2 separate regions of the Homo sapiens genome follow, and region 1 is linked to region 2. Evidence: promoter capture Hi-C in human tissues and cell types (Jung and others, 2019). All regions are on one chromosome and are shown on one strand. Each heading gives the region's core, a stretch centred on a gene start or on the middle of the fragment in contact. The rest is flanking DNA. Distances are from core to core; before and after follow the strand shown.

Region 1 (6,070 bases), core at 462-2,961, 220 kb before region 2:
GGACCATTGTTACCATAGCCTAATGGGGATTCTATCTCTCTGGGAGGATGGAACATTTTGCTACCTTGCGTGTAATAATAACAGCCACACTTATTATTCTGGGGAGTGGAAGGCCTAGAATATGGAACCAACAAAAAGAAAAAGACAGTGGAAAACTAATATATCATTAACGTGCCTTTGGGAAAGCTCCTTTGGCAACTACAAAAGCATTATCCAGCACCAGTTTGCAGATAAGAATCAATTTAATTAATTTTAAATGGCTTTGCACATTGATAAAGCCAGTGACTGAAGAAAATGGAAACTTGACTCAAATAAATTCTGTGGAAAGAGCTGTTAAGAATAGCAGACAGGGCCGGGCGTGGTGGCTCACGCCTGTAATCCCAGCACTTTGGGAGGCTGAGGCAGGCAGATCAAGAGGTCAGGAGATCGAGACCATCCTGGCTAACACGGTGAAACCCCATCTCTACTAAAAATACAAAAAAAAAAAAAAAAAAAAAAAAATAGCCGGGCGTGGTGGCGGCCCCTGTAGTCCCAGCGGCTCAGGAGGCTGAGGCAGGAGAATGGCGTGAACCCGGGAGGCGGAGCTTGCAGTGAGCCGAGATCGTGCCACTGCACTCCAGCCTGGGCGACAGAGCAAGACACTGTCTCAAAAAAAAAAAAAAAAAAAAGACTAGAGTACAGAGCTCTGGAAATGTTCAACTTAACTACCCCTGTCAGTGAGTTTAGGAATGGTTGTTAGTTCCACAGTCCTTTAAGATGTAAGTATAGTAAGTATGAAAAGCAAAGACAGTTTCAAAAGACCCGAGTTCAAACCTTGGCTCTGCAATTTTTTAGTTGGGCAACTTGAGTGAGTTAATTAACATTTCTAAAGCCTCTGTCTATAATTTATGGACGATTTTCATAGCGTCCATTAATATATAATATTAGACTCTCCAAAAGCCTTTCATGAAATTCTCTTTGTCATCAATATGCTTGTGGTGAACCCTGGCTTCCTTGATTACCTGTTCAATCATCTGATCCCATAGTACCTATTCTAATGCCGATAAGCATATGGGGAATGATTAGTGGACCCACCACAAAGCTATCTGTCTAGGCTATGCACCCAAACATGGAACTTGAAGGATGTATAAGGTTCCATCTCTGGTCTTTGGGACTTTTTAGCAGTGTTCAAGAGATAAAATGTATGGACATGGTTTTCCCTTTTAATGTATTTCCATGGGTACACACCCATGGAAAGTGAAATGTCACACAGGGTCATCTGCACTTCATGCCCTGTGAATGGCACACATGCTAGTGTCGGATAAGATCAGAAGATGAGATGAGGAAAGAAGAAACTTCCTAGAGAGGAAAACTGATCTGAAAAGATGAATAGAACTCAGATTATTCCTGGCCTACTTAGACTGGAGGGACAAAATAAAATAATACGAAGACATATCTATACCTCAAGCCTAGTGCCCAGCAGATGGGAGGAGCCCAATTCTCCTGAATGAGTTCCATGTCCACTGAATTTCTAAAAACTATTCCAAACCTCCCCCATCATCAAAGAGGAATAATGGCAAAGGCCTGATCTCTGGTCTCTGGGAGTTTACAGCACTTGAGCTGCTGGCTGGGTCTGTTCTTAAGAGCCCTTGTACTGGGCCAATGCATGCCAAAACCCCCATCCTCCAGAAATCACATCCAAAAAACTTATTTGGAATTACTTTTGTACTCCTTTGCATCAAGGTCTGAGTCCTGGAAACTTTCTTACCAACCTAGGGCTTCCAGTGCCAAGAAATCAATCTTGCAGGATACAGTTCTTATGTGCTTATGTTCAGCAAGAAGCAGTTGATGAATAAAAAAAGATATTAAGACATGGTTTCCCCTTTTATGGAGTGCATAGACCAGCAGCATGAGTCAGACAAGTATACCCAGAACTATTCTAAAAGAACATATAAGCTAAATGACATGAGGGAAAGAGCATGTGCCACTGAGGCTCAGTGACGGAAGCAATCACATCACATAGCAGTGATCAGGAGAGGTTTCCTGTAGAATTGGAGATGGCATCTCTGTTTCTGTTCCCTTGTCTATAAAATGAAGATAATTGTAGTTCCTATTGTGTAGCATGTTTATAGTCATCAAATGAGTTATTCCATGTCAAAAACTAAAGATAGCTCCTGGCACATGGTAACTACTCAATAACTGTTAGCTACTTTTCGCTGCTAGCTGAGAATGAACTTGAAGGATAGGTAGTATTGTATAAATGGAAATGAAGGGTGGGGAAAGTACAATTTATAATCAAAGAAAAGGTAATATCTATCTTTCCTCAGCTGCTTATCTCATAACCAGGGAGAAAGAAATCAGAGACTGGAAAGCAGGAAAGTCAAGGGTGTGCCCAGGAAACAAAGCATTCTGTTGGGAGTGAAACAAAAGCTTCACATGGGAGAGTGGGAAATGAGACATTAAAGCAGTGTCGGGAGGGCCTTGAACGCTAGTCTGAGAATTTGCACAAATACTTGGTTCCTGCCCAAGCTTCTATTATAAGTAATAACCCAGTCATCCACATTGTCTTAATCTGGCAAGTCCTGCAGATGGACCCAATTCTGACTGTGGCATCACCTCTCAGCCATTAGATGGAACACAGTCTTTAGAGCATCAAAATGGCAAGCTTTCAGCAGAGCAAGGCAAAGTTATTGATTAGTGTTTTCTTTGTACCTTTTTTGTGTCTACTTGGGCTGAACAAATATTAGTTGAATGTGTCTGAGGACACTTACTTCAGGATCACTCAGCAAAATAAAGACCAGGCCAACTATGCAATTCAGGTGCTAGGGAAATGCTGAAAGTACACGCATTAGCCAAAAGTAGAGATGCATAGCACTTAAAACCAAACACAAAACTCCTTTTCAGAGAAACTTCCCTTTGCTGGAGAAAAATAGTAAACAGAAGACAAAGCAGCATGTCAGAGCATTAAAGAAGCGATGAGTGACCAGGGGCCAGGAGGGTAAGTTGAGTGTCGGTGCTGTCAGGGAAGACCTGGGAGTAGAGGGTGTCAGAAAAATCAGGAAGGGCACAGGCGTCAAAGAAGGCTTCATAGAGATAGAATATAGACAGGTGGAGAAAGACCAGGGAGGTAATAAATCTTAACAACCTAGTCCATTCATTTATTTATTAATGAATATCTATTGAGCACCTGCTATGTGCCAGGCACTGTCTTGGGCTTTATAACAGGAAACATAGTGAAGTCCCTGTCTTCATGGGGCTTATGTGTAAGTAGGTGAGACAGAAAATAAATGAAAAGGAAAATATATAATGTCAAACTATAGGTACTATGAATGAAAATAAAGTTGGCTTAGGGGAATAGAGGCATACTATTGATTGAGTGGTCGAGGGGCACATATTAGTCTGCTAGGACTGCCATCACAAAACACCACAGACTGAGTGGTTTAAGCAACAGAAATTTATTTTCTCACAGTTTTTAAGAGGCTGGAAGTCCAACATCAAAGGTTTATTCTAAGGCCTCTCCTTGGCTTACAGATTGCCAGCTTGTCGTGGTGTCCTCATGTGGCCTTTTCTCAATGTGCTTGCATCCCTGGCATCTGTGTGTGTCAAATTTCTCCTCCTTCTAAAGGCAACAGTCAGATCATATTAGGGTCCACACTAATAAACTCATTTGTTAAGTTTTATTTTGTTTTTAATTGACACATAATAATTATACATATTTTTGCTGTACGGTGTGATGTTTTGACACACATATATATAGCAGCTTCATTTTAACTTCATCACCGCTTTAAAGACCCTATATCCAAATACAGTCACATTCCAAAATGCTGGGGGTTAGAGCTTCAACATATGAAGTGGGAGGGCCCAATTCAATTCATAACAGGGGGGTCTTTCTGATGAAAGGGCATTTGAAGAGACTCAGATGCTGTGATGGATTAAGCCATGAAGCTATCTGGGGCAAGAGAGAACAGCTTGTACAAAGCATGCTCATCATATTCTCAAAACAGCAAATGAGGTGGGTACGGCTGGGAAATGTGAACAAAAAGAATAGCAGGACATGACAATGAAGAGGTAGCCAGGGGGCAGGTCATGTGGCTCTGAGCAGCTGCATTCAGAATTTTGGAATTTGGGAGAGAAAGATTTAGAAGGTTTTGAGGTCAGTGACATATTCTTCTTTGCATTCTAAAAGAGTGCTTTCTGGCTTCTGAGTGGGAATAAGACTGTAAGAAGCAGGAGTGTAAGCATGAAGATCAGGTAGGAGGCGGTTGTCCTGGAAAAAGAATGGTGGCTTGAACCGGGGATTACAGGGAGGTAGTAGTATTTATAGCCTATCGAATTTCCCAGTCTCTAGAGTAGGGGCTACAGTCAGCTCTGCCAGAAGACAGAGTTAGAGGCAATATCACTATCTTTCCTTTCCAGGAGAAAAAGACAAGTCAGGGGCTAACTGTAGACATCACAAATTTCAACCACAGACATCTTTCAAAAGACTGGAATCTTAAATGAACTACTCCACTCCATTATCTAAAGGCCCATTGCTGTGGAATGAATATTTTTGTCCTCACAAAATTCATATGTTGAAACTCTAATCTCCAATGTGATGGAGTTTGGAGGTGGGACTTTTGGAAGGTAATTAGATGATAAGGGTAAAGCCCTTGTGACTGGGATTATCAGCCTCATAAGAAGAGACAGGAGACAGATGGTCATTCCCCCTCTCTGCCATATGAAGATACAGCAAGAAGGCAGCCTTCTATAAACCAGGAAGAGGGTCCTCACCAGACACTGAATCTGCCAGCACCTTGAACTTGGACTTTCAACCTCTGGAAGAATCAAAAATAAATGCTGCTTGTTTAAACCACCCAGCCTATGCTATTTTTGTTATAGCAGCCCAAACAAACTAAGACACCCATTAACTTATGTAGTTAATGGTGAATCAGACAAGCAAATGCCAGCCTTCCCACTAATCTATGGAAATTCTTGATATTAAAAAGCATAGCTAAATAAAAATTTCCACAGTCAACTCTTAATTAGCCACACTAATGAAGCAGAAAGGTTGTGGATAATCCAAATACCTCATGTTTGTTACTGTTGTGTTAAATAGACTTCCCCATCCATTCAATGGATTCTCTCTCTTAACCTCTTTTGTTTATGTCAACAAGTTAAAATTGTCACTCAGCTAGGTGCAGTGGCTGTAATCCCAGCACCTTGGGAGGCCGAGGCAGTTGGATCACTTGAGGTCAGGAGTTGAAGACCCACCTGGCCAACATGGTGAAACCCTGTCTCTACTAAAAATACAAAAATCAGCTGGGCGTGATGGCAGGCACCTGTAATCCAAGCTACTCAGGAGGCTGAGGCAGGAGAATTGCTTAAACCCAGGAGGCGGAGGTTGCAGTGAACCAAGACTGCACCTCTGCACTCCAGCCTGGGCAACAGAGTGAGACTCCATCTCAAAACAAAACAAAACAAAAAATTGTCACTCAAGTACGGGGAACAGAAAATCTCTTGCCAGTATAATTTAACCTGAATGATTCTCCTGACACAATCTCAACAGAGTCCTTTAGACACAATAATTAATGTAATTTGCAGTTGGGTAGAACTTTCTAATTTTCAAAACAGTTTAACAACTATTTATCCTATCTACTGCTCAGAACTTCAGAGCAATTCCTAATTCCCTGTCCCCTTATTTCCATTAATGGAATTCCTATTTGGAGTATAATTCTTGAACTTTCTGGAGAAATATTTATCTCTTGGTAAGTGCCATGTTCCTTGCCTGGGTGAAGTTAGTATTTATTAACAAACAGTACCCATTTGTGGCCTTGTTCTCACTCCTGCTCTTCAGGTTCTGAAAAACTAATTCATTGCCAGTTCATTCAGCAAGCATCTGCTTTTCAGTCTCTCCCTCTGATGGGGTGTCCCAAAGTCTTGAATGAGAATGGATAGGGAAGGCAAACTAGAGGAAGCATGCTACCAGCCACAGGCTGGATTTTCCCTAGTAATGGAGCTGATATTCACACTCCGAATATCCAGGTTTTGTCTCCTTGTTGATTGGTATCCAGTGCCAAAGACAATAACCTTGAAACTTGGGATTGCTACTCAG
Region 2 (7,109 bases), core at 3,550-6,049:
CTTAAATTTTGCATTGGTTTGTTTAATGCCTGTCTCCCTCCCACTTCTCACCCCACCCCACCCCACCCCAACCCCCCACCGTTTCCTTTACCACAGTATACCCAGCACCTAGCATAGTACATAACATCATGTAAGTACTCAAATACTTGTTGAATGAATGTATGCACGGATTTGAATATATAATGAGAATACATATATGTGACTATATAAGTTAATCATTATGTCACCTTTGGTGAGCATCTGGTAAGTCCTCGGATGGCTGATTAGTAGAATACTCAGCAAGATACTTCATTCATTTGGCACTTCACCAAACTCACTGAGGCTGGCTGCTGCCAACATTAACTGCTTAACTGTAACATTATTGGCTAAAAGCAGATCTTATGCCTTTATCGTTCAATACTTGTGCAACTGAAGACAATATTTATACAGTATCTCCTCAAAGCAAATCGTAGTGCAAGGCTGTGCAGGATTCCAAAGAGAATGAGACCTCTTGCCCACAAGAAAAATACCACAACCTAGCCTAGTAACTATTTTAGCTTATTAAAGAGTTTACTTTTATAATGTGTAGATTTTGATCCTCTTAACAACTGTGAAAAAAAAGTATAATGTGCAGATATGCTAAAAAGTTTCAAAAGATGATCTAGAGAAATGATAAAGAAAAACAGGGATGAAAATTCTAAATCAGTTTCTACATTTTGTTGTACATTTTAAGCCTTGTTATTATGTTCATGATAATTGAGTATTCACTCCAGGCTTCACAAAACAGCAGGCCCCTGAAACAATAAAACAACAACACTCTTCTCCTCTTTCTCCTCCTCCCCAGCTTGTACTTACTCCCCATCCCCTGCCTCCAATAAGCACCCACAGTAGTCAAGACCAGCAAGCAAAGGCCAGGTCCAGGATGAAATTCAAACTCAGTTCCCCACTCCCCAAGGACTCTCGATAGCTCACTCCCTCCTGTTCTGCTCTCTAGCTCCAGAGAGAAGTGAGGCAGAAAGATGCTGGACTTAAAGTCAGAAGACCCCTGACTGTGTCCAAGTTCAAGGCTCAGTTTGCCTTAATTTCTTCATCAGCAATATGGGCTTCCTAACTTCTGTCCCACCTATAGCTTATAACTCTCAGTTGCTCTGAGGACTGGAATGAGATATCCCATGTGAAAGTTCCTACAAACCACAATAGGTTATACAAATGTGACCGAGTCATTGTGATTTTTATCAGGACTTAAACATTTAGCATCTTGTATTGTTCTATCTTGTCTCACTGATCTGGAGTCTCCAGATCCACTATAAGTTCAAGCTCAGAGACCATGTCATAGATTCTGCCTACCTTCATTGCCTGTAGTACTGGGCACTTAGCACCCATACAATAAGCACTTGTGAATTGGTCACTGGTTGATTTACTTGACAAATTTGCGTCGGAGTACAAAGTGTTCTGTGGTTTTTCTGAATTTCTTATATTGATAAACACATTTTCTGAAACTCACCATAATGTTTCCCTGGCCCATGATCTTTATGGTTTATCTTCCTTTTTTCCTAACCAGCTGGGCAGAATTTCACCGAAAAGCAGACCATTTTGTCAAAGGCAAAAATAATATTTTGCTAACGCAGTCTTTGAGATTCCTTTTAAGGCTGAGACATGGGACCCAAAAGTCACTTGGTAACTGTAAGCCCCCTCTGTCACTGTTCAACAAATGTAGTCCGAGATCCCACTAAGCACAGGGAACAGTGTTGGAACTGTAGGAATAAATGAGGAAAACTGAATCTCACAGTGGCTCTGCAGTCAGACTGCAAGGGATAGAATCCTAGCTTCACCTTTTCCGGGCTGGGTGACCTTGTACAAGTTACTCAGTTTGTCTCTCTTTCCTCCTGTAAAATACGGTGATAATAGAACCTACCATCCTAAGATTGTCATCAGGATGAAGTGAGTTCATACATGTAAAAGCTTTTAGCTTTTAGTGCCTAGTACAGCGTAACAACAAATATTAGAGATCTAGGTCAGTGCAGCTAAACAGACCAAGACCCAGATTAGCAAAATGACATGTCAAGTCAAGGAGCCATAAAGAAATAGATATCACAGCTGGAAACTGGGTCCCCACATCCTATTCTCTTCTCTATGATGTTTCTTTGTGGGTATTTCACACAGGTGGCACTCTGGAAGATGCACTTTCCTGACACCTGATAAGCAGAGTCAATAAACACACCCACCTTCTCTGCTTCAACATACCCTGCAGAGTCGTCCTTCCTCCTAGTGAGACCTCAGGCCCACCATTTCCCACTGGCCTCCCATCTGACTCAACATGCACCTGGGGGGTTCCATCTACTGCTGGCTCCCACAGCAATACTGCAGTGAAGAAAGCAAGCATCACATCCTCATGCAGTTGTTATGGGAATTAAATGAGATAATGCCTGGAAAAGTGCCTAGCAGAGTATCTGATATATAGTATGCAGCTAATAAATGTTATCTATTAAAAAATAGAAGGAAAAGGAGGAGGAAAACCCTGTGGTGCCTACTCTCTCAAAGCTGACACACATTCCAATGGCAAATGCCAGACACAGGGCAGATTGAGATGGGTGGTAGAACAGAGGGATGCACGTCTGTGAAGAATTACAGTGAAGGGCAAAACCCACTGAAGACAGGAGGGAGCTGCAGTTCCCACTCTCCCCCTTCCTTCTTAAAAGAAGATGATGATACTCAGTTGGTGCTTTGCTGGCAAACTCAAGCTCCAGAGCTTTGGATTTTTAATATTATAATATTTCAGAACAGAACAAAGACTGCTTCTGACCTCCCAATTTGCCCTCATACACTTGACCAGCAAAACCTTAGCGTAGCTGCATTCATCAATGGCTCTATTCAGGCAATTATGGGTCAGACAAAAGATTCAATTAATACTGATCCCGCAAGTCTCCTTAGTATATTCACAACATGCTTTGGATTCAGAGTTCTATGGCACCTTCATATGACCTTCTCCGGATCCCAATATTGACAATTCCTAGTTCAGAAACGACAAACATAATATTAGAACAAGAGAAGAAGGGAAGCTGGTGAGAAAGAAAGAACAGACTAGACTGGGTGCAGAAATTATATCATCCATTTGCTGTCTGTCCCCGAGTGCATCCTGGGGCCTGGCCCATGGCGGGCTGGTTGGAAATGCATACTGAACGAGTCAATCTCCTCAAGAAGGTCACCACCCAGGTAAGAAGTGGAGCCTGCACATTACACCAAGTTCAGCTAGAGAATCAAAGCCACCTCTTCGGCTCCAGATATGCAGGGAAGACAAAGCACGAGGGCATATGCCTTCAGCTAAGAGATAGGTGCGTGCTTCCTGTTTACCTGGGCAGGTATTTGCAAATAGTCTAAGAAGGGGGGCAACTAGGAGTGACTTACACAGTTCCAAGTGAATGGTTACGCAAATCGCTTGAGTAAATACAGGGAAAGAAACAGGAAAGGCTTCTGAACTGTTTGTACTCATCTGCTCCAGTATTTTCAGAGGGTAGGGTGAAAGACAAAAAACCCGAACGAAGGCTCCGGGCCAACCACAAAGCTACTCTCCGGCAGGAACGTAAGGAACACCTACCGCCCCTCCCCCCACTTCACGCCTTGGCACCAAACCAGGGCCCCTGGGTCATTTTGGCAGGTGGAGGTAGCTCTTTGCTGTCCTCTGCCCCTGCTGCGGGCCACCCGAGTGAAGCTTTCGGCTCGGTCTCCCCAGACAAAACCGGGGGGAGACATCAAGAATGCAAAAGGTGCTCCTTTCTCCAAATGAACGAGAAGGGACAGAGCGGGGTTGGGGGTGCAGGACAAGCCCTGCAATGCGAAAGGCGCCCAGCCAGGCTCGCCGCGGCCCCTGCCGGCAAGACTGGCTCGCTTGCTAGCCAAGGTGCCTCAGGAGGTCGGGCAGCCACCCAGAAAGGCGCGAAAAAAAAAAGAGGAGTTCCTGACCCCGGGGTGACCCTTCCCCACCACTGCCACTGATCCAAACGCAGAGTCCGCAAGTGACTCCACACCTGCGCTGCAAGCCTCACGCCGTCCCCACCCAGGGCGCAGCGCTGCACGAGAGCAAGGGCCCTGGGTTCGCTCTTCCCTGCAACTGTCGCGGGGCGCCTAGCACAGCTGCAGGGCAAAGGGGAGGGGAGGAATGACAAAGAAGGCGGAGCAGACGGCCCGGGAAGCATTTACAAGCGCCAGGAAAGCGCCTCCTCTCGAGGAAGGGAAGGAACGGCTTCCCGGCCAAGGAAACGCCCCGGGGATGCCCCTACGCGAGGTGCCGCCTTTCTTCGGCTCATCGATTCTCCCGCCTCCAGGTGGTCCTCCCCCTGACCATAGCCCACCCCACTCCCCGAAAGCTGATCCTAAATACCTTCCCCGAGGCTTTCAAATCAACCCAGCCACCGCTTCAACAGCCCGCAGTTCACGCAACAGGCGGAGCCTTAGGGCTCCAGCGACGGCGGGCTCTGGGGACCAGAGGATGCGGGCGCCGCGGGCCAGACGCCCAGAAGGACGGAAAGTGCTCTGCGGCCGTAGACCCTCGGGGTCGTGCACCCGCGACCTGGACCACAGGAGACTGGGGCAGCAAAAGGTGGGGGAAGGCGCGGTAAAGTTGCAGGGTCGCCCGGAGAAGTCTCCGGAGCGCGCAGGGAGGTGGGGACGCCAGCCAGGTACCTGCAGGAGTCCGGACGCATCCAGCTAGCTCCGCTCTGCGACGCCGCCTGCCCGCGCTGCAGGGATCAGGCCTCGCGGCGCGGCCCCGCGCCTGCCGCCGCGGCGGCGAGGAGAGCGGGGTGGCCCGCGTCGGCCGGTCTGTCCGTCGGTCCCGCCCCGCTAGAGCGAGGCTCCCGGGAGCTGCGGGCGGGGCGGGGCCGGACGGGACGGGGCGGGGCCCGCCGCTCGGCCGCCGCCCCATTGGTCGCAGCTCCGCCAGCCCCTCGCTTCGGGCCCGCAGCCGGGCGCCCCGGGCCGAGGGCGCGGGCGGCTGAGGACTGCGGGGCTCCGACCGCCAGACAGGCGGACAGACCCATAGACCTAGATGCTGCCCTGCCGGCCGCGCGCCCCCGCCCAGGCCCAAGTGCAGAGTCACCCCGGAGCGGCAGGCGCTGTCCGGGTGGGACCAGGAGCGCGCCCCGCGCCTCCCACCTGCGCGCCCTCCTGGGCCGGAAGCGCCGTGGCCCTGCGGGAAAAAGATGACCTCCCCCGCGGCCCCGGCGGCTGGGGCAACCGCCTTTCTAAAGTCGCGGCCCAAGCGACACTTTGCTAATTTGCCTGGATTTCCTCAGGAAATCGCGAGGCCCAAACTTGTTTTAAAACAAAGTGCGAAGGAGAGTACATATAGCTCCAGTTCCTGCCAATGTTTGCCATCGGTCCCGCTGCCTGAAGACTCAGGCACAGTGCAGAACAAGATGCTTTGTCTTATTCCTCCACTCACCGAGTCAGAAGAGGTGCTTGGACATTTGCACCAAGCAGATGCGCCTCATATGTAGAAGAGGAACCAGTCGGGTCCCCTTTCGGAAGGACGAATGGAAGAGGAAGTCAGGGGACGATGCCTTCAGCCGACGTTGAGGAACAAACCAGGACCTCGGCGAGGACAGCGTGTGGTCCAGAAGGCATCGCTGGCCTCGCTGCACTGAGCGAGAGCGCTCAGTTAACAGCCAGGAGGAGAAATGGGACGCTTCGGGACCCACCCCCGCGCTCCCCCTCCCGCCCCCAAACTGCAGATTTTTAAGTTGTGCAGACGTGGAACAATTCCTCGGAGCCAGCTGCTCCAAGCTAAGGCGCCCAGTGTTCCCTGGGTTCCTACCCGCAGCATACGCCCTGCCAGCTGCCCCCAAGCCAGCACCCGCTGACCACTCACCTCAGGCAAGCACCTAGGAAGACGATGCAGATTCAAGCTCCAGACCTTGAGCCAAGCGCTGGGGAGGGAATGGGGGCAAAGAGATGGTGGAAAACACTTTCCTGAACTTACTGAATACCCTATGTTATGTGTGGGTTTTCTAATTGTTCTTTGCTTAATGAAAAACCCACGTTGGAAATCAGAAAAAGGCAGTAATCCTCACCGTATCTTGTGGGCTTCAAAGAGGAGGTTTTCCCCTTAAAGGGAGTTTTGGTCCAGAGGAGAGGCTAACAGCAGGCAGGAAGGGCAGAGGAAAAGATAAAGCCTAGGGTGGTCTTCCCCCTGAGGCCTGGAGCCCACCAAGCTCCAACAGTTTCATTTGGCTTCTGGGAAGCAAAGTACAGATGCATGTGTCTGCAGAGCACTGTTCTGAGCCATTTGTCCCTAATTCCATGGTTCTTTGGTTCCTCCAATCTTGTCTCCTCTCCTGTGGAAGAGGATCCAAAGCATTGGTCCACACTGCTATTTACAAGTGGCTGAAGAAGGTAACTTTCTTACATAGTTCATCTTTAGCATAAGCTCTAAGATTGTTCTAAAAATATATTTACATTTTATCAACACCTTAGAAGAATGCTTCCAGATCTCTCCCAGCAGTTACCTATTTAATCATTTTAAAATCACTAAGTTTATCCAAAAAGTCCAGCATGGTTTACTTGAGAAGGAAATATGTTCAGAATCTCTAAGCACTGCAGAAGGCACCTGCAGTGCAGAAGAGTTGGCAGTGAGGTCTTTCTCCTGGGGTCTGGGCGGAACATGTGAGCAGTCGGGAAGGCACACACAGTGGGAGCCAGTAAGGGCCCCTGTGCATCTGCAGGAGCTGAGGACAGAAGGGGTGGGCCTCCACGGTGGGCATGTAGGAGTGGGCACAGAGAAGGGCCACAGATCTGAGACAGAGACAGACAGGACTTCTTACCCTGCTGAGCCCTGCAGGGAGCCACTTCGTCTTTCAGCCCTGATTTTGTCATCTGTAAGGAAATTTCCTCTCTCCCAGGGTAATCATGTGAAGCCAATGAAATAATAAAAAGGACCACATCGGATGACCCCTGAGGCAGGTCTGCTCCCCAAAAGTTTACTCTTGAATGTTGACCAAGGTTGAGCTAGGCAAAGTGGTAAATTCACACACACGGTATGTAGCCCCTTCCCCAACCCCAGTCTCCATTACCGGGGGCATGCTGTGAACTAACTGCCTCCTTTTCCCCACACACCCACTTCCTGCCCAGTCTTT

The links. The method cuts DNA at HindIII sites, captures the fragments that hold promoters and counts their contacts. A contact is called where the count stands out against the background at its distance.
Region 1: a contact is called between a fragment that was not itself captured here and the fragment with the promoter of KCNS3 in region 2, in 3 of the 25 tissues and cell types used here (mesendoderm cells, spleen and thymus).

Annotation. Positions count from the first base shown.
Region 1 is chr2:18,090,868-18,096,937 of GRCh38, reverse strand. No RefSeq gene overlaps it. Among named protein-coding and RNA genes, the nearest start is that of KCNS3, 220 kb to the right of the region's middle. The HindIII fragment of the contact is 6,625 bases long and covers 1-5,023 here.
Region 2 is chr2:17,876,357-17,883,465 of GRCh38, reverse strand. It overlaps KCNS3 (potassium voltage-gated channel modifier subfamily S member 3), which reads right to left and starts at 4,799. Exons shown (of 3, transcript NM_002252.5): 1 at 4,660-4,799. It overlaps LOC124907737 (a long non-coding RNA gene), which reads left to right and starts at 6,904. Exons shown (of 2, transcript XR_007086226.1): 1 at 6,904-7,109. RefSeq lists silencers at 4,679-4,728, 4,819-5,018, 5,029-5,188. The HindIII fragment of the contact is 5,451 bases long and covers 2,816-7,109 here.